Regions from separate parts of the Homo sapiens genome. Here region 1 is linked to region 2. Evidence: promoter capture Hi-C in human tissues and cell types (Jung and others, 2019). All regions are on one chromosome and are shown on one strand. Each heading gives the region's core, a stretch centred on a gene start or on the middle of the fragment in contact. The rest is flanking DNA. Distances are from core to core; before and after follow the strand shown. Region 1 holds the start of LOC124902669 (translation initiation factor IF-2-like). Region 2 holds the start of MAPK8IP1 (mitogen-activated protein kinase 8 interacting protein 1).

Region 1 (4,931 bases), core at 503-3,002, 350 kb after region 2:
AGCACTGTCAAATAAACCAATGAGCAACTTAAAAATGAGGAAATGGCCAACAAACAAATGAAAGTGTGCTCAGTCTCACCTGTTAACAGGGAATTGCAAATTAAAACACTGAAAGGCCATTTCACACCCATCAGCTTGGCAAAAATTTTGAAGTCTGACAATACCAAATGTTGTTGAGGATGCCAAGCATGGGAACTTCCATATATTGCTATCAGACTGTGAATGGTACAACCACTTTGAAAAAACTTTTAGTCATGCTGAGTAAAGCTGCCAGTTCCTCTGCCTTGAATCCAGCAATTCTGCACCCAAGTGGCTACTGGAAGACTTACTTTCACACAAGGGGATGGGTATAAAAAATACTAATCACAATATTGTTTCTAACAGAAAAAAAATTAAAAATAAGTTGAATGTCCTTCAGAAGGACATTGGTAAATAAAGTATGGTGAACTCATATAATGGGACCCAAATAGGAAGTGAAAATTGCATAATCTAGAACTACGTGTATCCATGTGAACACATTTCAAGATTATCCTGCTGGGTGAAAAAAGCAAGTTGCACAATTATATACCCAGTATAATGGTATTTCTTCAGAGTTTAAAAACATACCAAACAATTCTGTAAAGTGCTTACAGGCACAAATATATGTAGCAAAAATACAAAAGTATGCATAGGAATGGTAAAACTCAAAGGCAGAAAGTGATTACCATAGGGGAGGGACAGAAATGAGTTCAGAAGACTAGATCTGTGAGGTTTTATGTCCTTTAAAAAAGATCTGAAGAAAATAGAGCAAATGTTAAGCTTTGACAAAGACGTGGCTAGGGGAGGGGAAGGCACACAGAATAGTGATTAATTATATTATTCGCTATAGTTTTTTGGTATGCTTTAAATTTTTTTGAATTGCACTTTGACCTATTAAAGGCGAATTCCACTGAGTTGGGGGTGGGTGGGTCAGGGAAGGCTTCTCAGACGAATTGAGTCTTACTTAAGATGACAGCTGAAAATTGAGTAGAAGAGGAAGGGCGGCAAGGTGTTTCAGGCAGAGAAGCCTGCGCTAAGAGGCTGGACTGGGAAGGTGAGGTAGGGGCCAGGGACTGAGACCCCCTGTGTGGCCAGAGCAGGGGAAGAAAGGAGCTGATGTTGAGGGGAGGGGAGGCGAAGGGGGTGTGCACAGACCATGCAGGACCCCACAGGCCATCCTGAAGGCTCAAGCCTCTCCCCTAAATATGACAAAATCAGCAGGCGGCCCAGGGACACTTCACTCGGCCAGATAGCGGAACAGGGAGGGCGTTCTTGAAAAGGTGACTCACATCTTGAGTTCTGGAGGATGAGTAAGAGGAAGCCGGTAGGGGGAGGGGGAGAAGGGAGGAAGGGGAAAATTCTCTGGATAGGGCCTAACTGCAGCAAAGACCTGAGGACCTTCAAGAGTGTGGCCCCAGCGGGCTCCAGCCTCCGAGCCTAGCTCGGGAGGCGTGGTGTAGAAAATGGCAGACTAGGGCATCCATGAAGACCGGGCGGCCCCAAGCCGAGAGGCATGGCAAAACAGGGGTTGCAGGTGGCTGTTCTGGCAGAGCGAGGAGGATGGATTTGAAGAAGACAGGCATGCAGGGGAGACCTTTGAGGGGAATGTGTCAACAGCCAAGGGGGGCGGGGCGCCGGGGAGGTCTGGATGAAGTGGGAATGAGGATGGAGTGCAGAGTGCCTGGAGAAGTGTTCAGGAGGGAAGGCGAGGCATCGGGACGAGGGGCTGGGCGGTCGCGCCATCTCTGCGATAGACAATAATCGGGTCAACACGCGGCGAGTGGCGGTGCGCGCGGGGCCAACCGCGTGGAGCTGTCGGGAGGGCGATAGGATGGGCGCGCCCGGGCTGCAGGCGGGGAGCCGGAGGTGGGAGGTGCCTCTTGAGAGTGGCTCTCCACCGCTGACAGCAAACGAGCTGGTCCGGACGGAGGACAGAGGGGGAAGAAACGGAGGGAGTCGCTGGGGGACGGCGACGAGTGGGATCCGGGCGGGTGGGACTGGGCGCAAAGGACCGCGCCGACGCCGCATGGCTGCCGGGAATTCAGCTCCCCCGGCCAGGTTGAGCGGGCCCCGGGGCCCGGAGCGGGCGTCGGCATCTCCGGCCTCCCCGCGGGGCTGCAGGCAGGCGGCGCCCCGAGCGCACCCCGCGCGAGCAGGCGCGGAACAGCGGACCCAGGCCGGGCCTTCCCGCAGCTTTTCTGGCCGCCTCGGAGGGCAGGGTCCCAGCGCGGCCCGAGGCGCCTCTTGCCAGCGGCCCGACCTCCTGCCCTCCCGGCCCCCTCCAGGCTCCCCGCACGTGCAGGCCCGGCGACGTCACTGCGGCTCTGACGCGCTCTTGGAGGCCCGGGCGGAGGCGGCGCGGCGCGGGCTTCCTCCGGGAGGTCCCGGTCCCGGCAGCCCGCGGCCGCGTCCTTGGCCCTCCTCCGGGGGAACCTCGTTCATTCCAAACTCTGGAAGGCCGGCTGTCCTTCGGTTACTGATAAGGACGCGAGCTCTTGGTAAAAGATTTGAACAATGCCCGGAAAGAAATAGCTGGACCTAAGAAACAGACTAATAATAGCTGCCAGCTAGAGCTCCACTCGTGTGCTCAGCGCCTTTAGGAACAATAATAACGACCACAGCCATAGTAGCCACCATTTATTGAGCGCTTACTCTGTGCCAGGTGCTGTGTTAAGCGCTTTGCAGGCAACAACCCTCGGAGGTAAGTACCATTATCATCCCTATTTTGCAGGAAACCCGGGCACAGAGAGGTTAAGTAACTTGCCCCAGGGCACACAGCTAGCTGATGTCAGTGCCAGAATTCCAACCGCGGCTGTCGGACCCCATGCCATCCTCATGTCAACCCACTAAGGACGGGATCCTTCTGTCCATCTTAAAGATGAGGCAACTAAGGCACATGGAAATTTAAGTATAATACCTTGCCCAAGGTCACCTAGCTGGAAAATGGACGAGACAGAAAGCGAACCCAGGGCTCCTTTCTGTACGCAGAACCCGCGGTCTTGGCCATAGGCGATGCCACTTCCGACAGCCCAGCAGGGTCTGGCCCTGGGTCCCAGAGGCGCAGCCCCTGCGGGGTTTGGATGGGTTCCTGCGGCCTCCGATCCGCTGGTGAATTGGGTGTGTCTGAGCATCGTCCCCGCTCAGCCCGCAGGCGTAGGATAGGGAGGCGTCTCCGGGAATCTACTCCGGGACGGGTCCGCGGTCCTCAGTCGGGATGGAGCGGGGGCGGAGGCAGCCGGAGGGAACTGGAGTCCCCATTGCAGAACTGCGGGGCCGGGCTCTGGGCTGGGCGCCTGCCCCGCGCGGCCGGCAGAGGGCGCTGCCGCACACGCCTTGGATCTCACTGTCACTGGGACCTCGGGGCAGGCTGACGTCGGCCTGCAGACGCCTGGACTCAGAACCCCGAAGCAAGAAGCTTCCCTTCCTGGTGGCTGCCATCCCTCAGGCCCACCATTTCAGCCCTGGACCTGCTTTCCCTGACCACTTTTCCCCATCTTCTGTGCTCCTGCCATCCCACCACTGGCCTTCAAGACTTCCCCAGTCCCTGCACAGCGGGTTTTGTCATCTGCTGAGAGGCGCGGACACTGATTCCCATCCCATTAAAAGGCCTAGATGTCTGCAAGTCAAATTCAGCCTTGCTTCCCCTTCTCGCCCTCTGGTGATTTAAAATAGGGATACATCATCTACTTGGAATAAATGACTAATTTTTCTCTTCTCCAAAATACGGTGGGTATGGGGAGGGTTGGTTAAGTAGGCGCACACAGATGAAAGGATCTATTTTCATAATAGCTACCGAGTACAGAGTGCTTCTTTTGCGCTGAGCCCTTTATGTGCTTTGACTCATTAATCCTCACTACAGCCCTAAGAGGTGTGGATGATGATTGCTGTTTGATGGATGAGGTCACAAGGCTGGTAAGTGGCAAAGCTGGGATTCTTCCCAGGAGTGTCTGACTTTAAAGCTATGTTCTCATCACCCAGAATGTACACGCTGAAACAACTGAACAGAAGAGGTAAGATGCAAATCATGAAAAACAAATCAAAATCTACGCTGAGAGTGCATAGAAATACCACATGTCATGGGAGGCTTGACCAGCTTGAGTCCCCAATGTGGGACTCAGATGTTGAACAGAAAAACAAAACCTAAAGGTGCAAGGAGAGAATAAGAATGAGGCTTTTGGCTTTAGCTTGGAAGAGCATCCGGAGAGGCCCACTCACTTTCTATGTCTGGGCTCTGAGAAAATAAAGGTGGTTCTAGGAAAATCTGAAAAGTATGGGAGAAAGAAAAAAAAAATCCCTTTTGTGGTTTTTCCTTTAACCAAGCCTCATTTTGCTATTTGTGTTTTATTTTAAAATTAATGTGGCTCTCCCCACCCTTTAAATTGGCACATAAATAGCAAAAACAGAAGGAAAGCCAGCTACAAACTTAAAATGTGGTGGGTTTCTCAGGAAGGAGGTACATGACTTGAAATGGAAATGAGGATTAAATGAGATGCCTTAAACATTTCAAAAACAGACTTTCCACAAGGAATTTAGATCATAAGCCCTTAGGGCAGAAGCTTTGTCTGGGTCTGGGCTTGGTATAGTGTCTAGAATCTGTGAGTGCCCAATGAATGTGTAAAACAAATCACCCTTTTAGTACATGCTTGCATCATCTGACCATCTGGGCTACCACGTTGCTTATGGTTTTATTTATTATTATTATTATTATTTATTTTTTGAGACGGAGTCTCACTCTTGTAGCCCAGGCTGGAGTGTAATGGCACAATCTTAACTCACTGCAACCTCTGCCTCCTGGGTTCAAGTGATTCTCCTGCCTCAGCCTCTCGAATAGGTGGGATTACAGGCACCTGCCACCACACCCGGCTAATTTTTGTATTTCTAGAAAAGATGGGGTTTCACCATGTTGGCCAGTC
Region 2 (4,858 bases), core at 961-3,460:
AGTTGGGGGTCAATTGGCCAAAATAGTACAGAGCACTCTGGCCCAGAGTGAGGGTCCTAAGTGCCATCCTGCAGTGCCACCCAGCCTTGCAGCCCACTTAAACCCCCTCCCAGGCTGGGGGTCAGTCAGTGCAGGGCCTGCTCCACGCCCTCAATCCATCCTTTAATTCAATGCAGCCACTTAAGCTGCAGCCTGTGGTGAGGAGGGGATGCAGGCTCTCTGGCTGTGACTAGGTGGTTGAGATCTGCCCACAGCCAAGCCTAGGGCGCCTGGATGCTGGCTTTGTCTCCTGGCCAGAGAATGGCCCCTCTCTGTGCAGTGTGCCCTGCTTCCATGCTAGGGGATGCTAGCCTTGGACTGAAAGCTTTATTAGCTCACACCCCAACTTTCTGGGAAGGGGCCCAGGCAAGGCCCAAGAATATCACAGTCTGGCCTGCACAGAGTGAAGAAGGAGAAAAGGGGAGGAACCTGCCTTGGGAACTTGTCTCATTCTTGGCTCTGCTCTGAAGCTCCTGCTGGCCTCCCTCATACCAAGACCTGGGCCTGCCTTTCCTTCTTGCCCTTCTGGCTTCTCTCTAATAATGGCTTTGGGTTGGTCTTTGGAGCTAAGATAACTTTGCTCTTGAGCAAAAGGTTCTGGAAGAGGGAGTTGTCCTTTACATCCACCCCTGACCTGCTAAGGATGTTCCCTAGCTGAGGCAGGTCTACATTCTAAGGAACGATTAGTAGCCATGATGGCAAGACTGCTTTCCTGAGAGGAAAAGCCAGGCACCATGGCAGCAGATGATTACCGTGAGGGCCCAGTGAAAGGGGCCTGATCACGAAAGCTGAGAAAGTAGTGGCCACCCCTCTGGGCCCCAGGGACAGGGAAAAGAGAAGCAGCCATGACCTTTGGCTCTAGGTATTGGGATATTCTCAGGGCTGGTGGTCGGAGGTTGCCTTCTGCACGGAAGGTGCCTCCAGCTCCTTGCTAGGTGCCGCACTGAAGGAAAGGGGCCAGCATGACTGGTCGGCAGTCCAGATTTGCAAATAGGACTCCACGAGTTGTGGCACAGTTTGCTCTGCACGTTTTCTGCCCTGTGGACAGGGTCTCTAGGGTTCTCTCGAGAGACCAGAGAAGCCAATGAGGTTTGACCAGAGGCTCTACGACCCAGCAAAGCTAAGGCCCTAGCCTTGGCAGTCCGTACTCTGAAATAACTCAATCGGGAAACTCAGGGACTTGAAGGCCTGGAAGCCCAGGAATAACACCCTCTCGAGGGAGAGACAATGAGGAAGAAGCCATGGCCAAAGCCTAGCAGGGATGGAGGTGCCAGAGGGAACAGAAACAACCAAAATGATCCCAAGAAGTCAACAGTGGGAGGAGAGGGAAAGGCGCCAAGTCTTAGAATGTGTGTCTGTGGGTGCAGAAGAGGGGTGCTCTGCAGGAAATGCAGTTGAGGCGCTAAGAAGGAGAATGCTGGGAAGGTCCTGGCGAGAGACCGAGAAGCCTGGAGGGCTCAATTCACCACGAGTAGCTGTTTGGGGCTGAAGAGAGATTTGGGTCAATCTTTAGAGAAGACAGCCTCTAGGGAGAGTCTTTGGGAGGGTCCCCTCAAGGTAAAGGGACAGGACTGGGGTGAGGGCTGGATCCCAGCGCAGGAGGTGGAGTGTTTCTGGGTCTCAGGCAACACATTTGTGTTACGTTACATTCTCACAACAACCATGAGAGGGACTGCTATTGTCCCATTTCACAGATAAGAAGACCAAACCTTAGTGCTCTGAAGTCACTAATGCAAGGCCCCACTGCCCAGTCACTTGTGGAGCCAGTGAATTCACACCACCTGACTCCAAACCTGTACACTTTAAGAGCCCACTGACATCCTCTCCTTTCTCTGCCTTCCTCCACGACCCTCCTTTTCCGCCTGCCTTCTTGGTCTCTGCTGCGGGGGGCCAACCTGGACCTTGGGGTCCAGTGTCCTGCCATTAGTCATCTGATACCCGGGCACTAAGCCCAACCGGAGGGACAAAGCCCACACCGGCCACGGGGTGGAGGAGAGTCGATGTCGGATTTAGGGCGGGGCTGAACCAAGCCCAGGGCCGCGGGGGCCGTGGCTTCAGCACCGCGGAGAGCGCCATCTCCGGGGGCGGGGCTGGCGGGGTGGGGGCGGGGCCTGGGCGGGGCGCGCGAGACCCCGGCCGGGTCCCGGGGGCGCGCGCGGGGCGCTCTCGCCAGTCCCGCGGGCCGTGCGCGGTGCTGTGCCGCGCCCTGCCAGACACAGGTGCGCCCGCCTAGCCCGAACTCCGCGGCGGCGGCTGCCCTCTCGCCGCGCCTCCGCCTCCTTCGCAGCCGCCGCCTCCTCCGCGCCGCGCTCCGCCCGGATGGCCAGGGCTGTGCCCGAGAATGGCGGAGCGAGAAAGCGGCGGCCTGGGAGGGGGGGCCGCGTCCCCGCCCGCCGCCTCCCCGTTCCTGGGGCTGCACATCGCTTCGCCTCCCAATTTCAGGTGAGAGTCCCCGGCCGCCGCGCGCCTCGCCCTTCAGCGGGGACTGATCCGCATTGGCTGCCCTGCCCGCCCCCCACCCCAGAACCTCGGGAACCCGGGAACGAAAGGGCTGCGTGGGAGTGGGGTCTCTTCCCGGGACAGAGCCCCCCTCAGAAGCCCCGCCAGCCTCAAGTCCGGACTGGTAGCCGTTGCATGTTCACGAGGCTGTTCCCTCCGCCATTCCTGGTCCTAGGCTGGGAGGTCTGCGCTGGAATTGGAGGAGGGGGCTCGGAGGCCTCCTTCTCCCCAACCTCCGGGCTGCGGCAGGGTCTGGGGTCGGGGTTGCGATCCCGGAGCGGGCAGGCAGGCTGCATCTTAGCCTGTGAATAGAGCTGGGAACAGCCTGGAGGGGCGCGGGTCGCAGTTTCCTGGGGCAACGACATTGTTGGTGCTGGGAGGAGGATGTTTGAGCCCCTCCCCGAGCCCTGCCTGGCCAGATGGGCCTACCTGCCAGGCCTGGCGTGGCCGGGCCCCTCTCTGGATTGGGCAGCACCGACCTAGGCAGGTGTGTCTCTCAGGGCAGGCGCTGAAGGCTCAGCCTCAACCAGGGGAATCCTAGGCCCGGCTGCGGGAAGGGAAGTCGGCTCGGCTCTGGAGTAGCCAGGGCCAGCGAGGGTGTCGAGGGGATCCCTGCTGGGGTAAATACCCAGAACCCTGACCTGAGCTCCTATTCCACCACCCCCACCCCCCAATCTGGTGTTAGGCCCGATGCATTTCAGAGAAGTGAGGGGTGAGTGTTGTGTGGAGGAGGAATAGATGTACCTCCCCCATAATTCTGAACCCTAGTTGGTGGGGAGGAAGAGGCCGAAGTCACTGCTCCCGGCCTAGAGAGGGAGGCTTAGACATACCCCATTGTTTCCCCATCTCGAGAACTGGCGCCTTCCCCTCTCCTGGGGCACCACCCCAGCCAGGCTCCAGCTGGGCTGTGGTGCCAGCCCCTCCTGGGAGCAAGGGGTCACTGGCTCCCAGGTCCTCAGGTGGGCAGAGACCCCTGGGGATCTCTAATAGCATCATCAAACTCAGAAACCTTCCCTGAGGCCCTGAGCTGAGCTGGAAGGACCAGAGGGGGCCAGATGGAGGAGGCCAGGCCTGAAGGCTCCAGGGCTGCAGCTCTCTGATAATGCCTTAGACTGAGGTCTGAGACTCCACCTGGCATGGTGCATGAGGCCTCCATGCAAATACTGCCTCCCCACCTGGAGGCCTCTGCAGTGGAAGCACATGGGGCTTAGAGGGACCTGGGTTCAAATCCTAGCTCCACTACTTTCTAACTGCATGACCCAGGCAGGTTTTTGTCCTCTCTGGGTGCCATCTGTTAAGTGGGCTAATTAATATTGATTCTTGCCTGGAAAGGAGAAAAAGCACATCAGGTCAGTGTTCAACAAGTGTCAGCCCCCACACTAGCAGACAACACTACGGCTCGCTGCTGTCCAGAGTGTCTTCCCAAGGCCCCTCCTTTAACCCTCATAACTGCCCCAAGAGAGGGTAGTGACCTGCCCATTTTATAGATGAGGTGATTGAGATTAACAAAGGCAGGGTGGCTCATCTGGAGACTACAAAAGAGTCAGAGACTAAGGCTACACTGGGACCCAGGTCTGTGCGTGTTTAGTCCACTCTACGTCCCAGCCCTGCCTCTGGCCCAGTGGGCAGCTTTTCTTCCTCGACCTGCTTCCCCAGGTGTCATAGATGCTTTAATGAGAGGAGCTGAGGAAGCAGACACCAGCCAGTGAATGTGTGGCCAGCTCTGCGGCATGTGGGACAAGGGTGGCAGTAGGCCACGAGGCTGAGGTGTGGGCCAGCACTCCAGAACATGGTGGCCTGGCTGCGGAGACAAGGCCAGTGCGTGGGAATAATAAGCGTCAGTGTCTCAGGCCCTGCCGGCCTGCCCCGCTGCTCCCAAAGCCCCCGCTGCCCTTTCTCCTGGCCCGCCTCTCACTGTGCTTGGCCAGGCTCCACTTAACCCTGGGTGGGTAGATAGTGCTTTCTTGTGGCTCTTTGGTGGAGTCATAGATCCAACTGGCCTGGGTTTGAATCCTGGCTGGCCCTTCTTACCTGTGTGCCCTGACACTGGGCACTTAAGCCCTCTGAGCCTCTGAGATGCCAGCACTGGCCCCTGCTCAGGATGGTCCTAAGAATCAGATGAGATAACACGTGTTGAGTGTTTCAAGGGCTGAGGAGAGCCGCCTGTAGGCAGGGCTGTGTGTGTGCACACACACACAGGCGCCTTGACCCCCAGTGCCACTGTCAGCTCCCAGAAAATAAAGGGGGTCTGTACCCAAACTTTGGTATCCCCATTGCTCAGCACGGGATAGTTACTCAATAACAGTGGTAAGCGCTGACA

What was found. Contacts are between HindIII fragments. The study calls those that stand out against the background at their distance.
Region 1: a contact is called between a fragment that was not itself captured here and the fragment with the promoter of MAPK8IP1 in region 2, in 1 of the 25 tissues and cell types used here (IMR-90 fibroblasts).

What each region holds. Positions count from the first base shown.
Region 1 is chr11:46,235,990-46,240,920 of GRCh38, forward strand. LOC124902669 (translation initiation factor IF-2-like) reads left to right here and starts at 1,400. Exons shown (of 1, transcript XM_047427965.1): 1 at 1,400-3,740. The coding sequence starts at 1,850. The coding sequence ends at 2,560. RefSeq lists an enhancer at 1,265-1,314 and silencers at 1,900-1,949, 2,060-2,379, 3,206-3,415. The HindIII fragment of the contact is 4,501 bases long and covers 1-4,003 here.
Region 2 is chr11:45,883,441-45,888,298 of GRCh38, forward strand. MAPK8IP1 (mitogen-activated protein kinase 8 interacting protein 1) reads left to right here and starts at 2,211. Exons shown (of 12, transcript NM_005456.4): 1 at 2,211-2,481. The coding sequence starts at 2,381. RefSeq lists a silencer at 2,073-2,472. The HindIII fragment of the contact is 16,221 bases long and covers 1-4,858 here.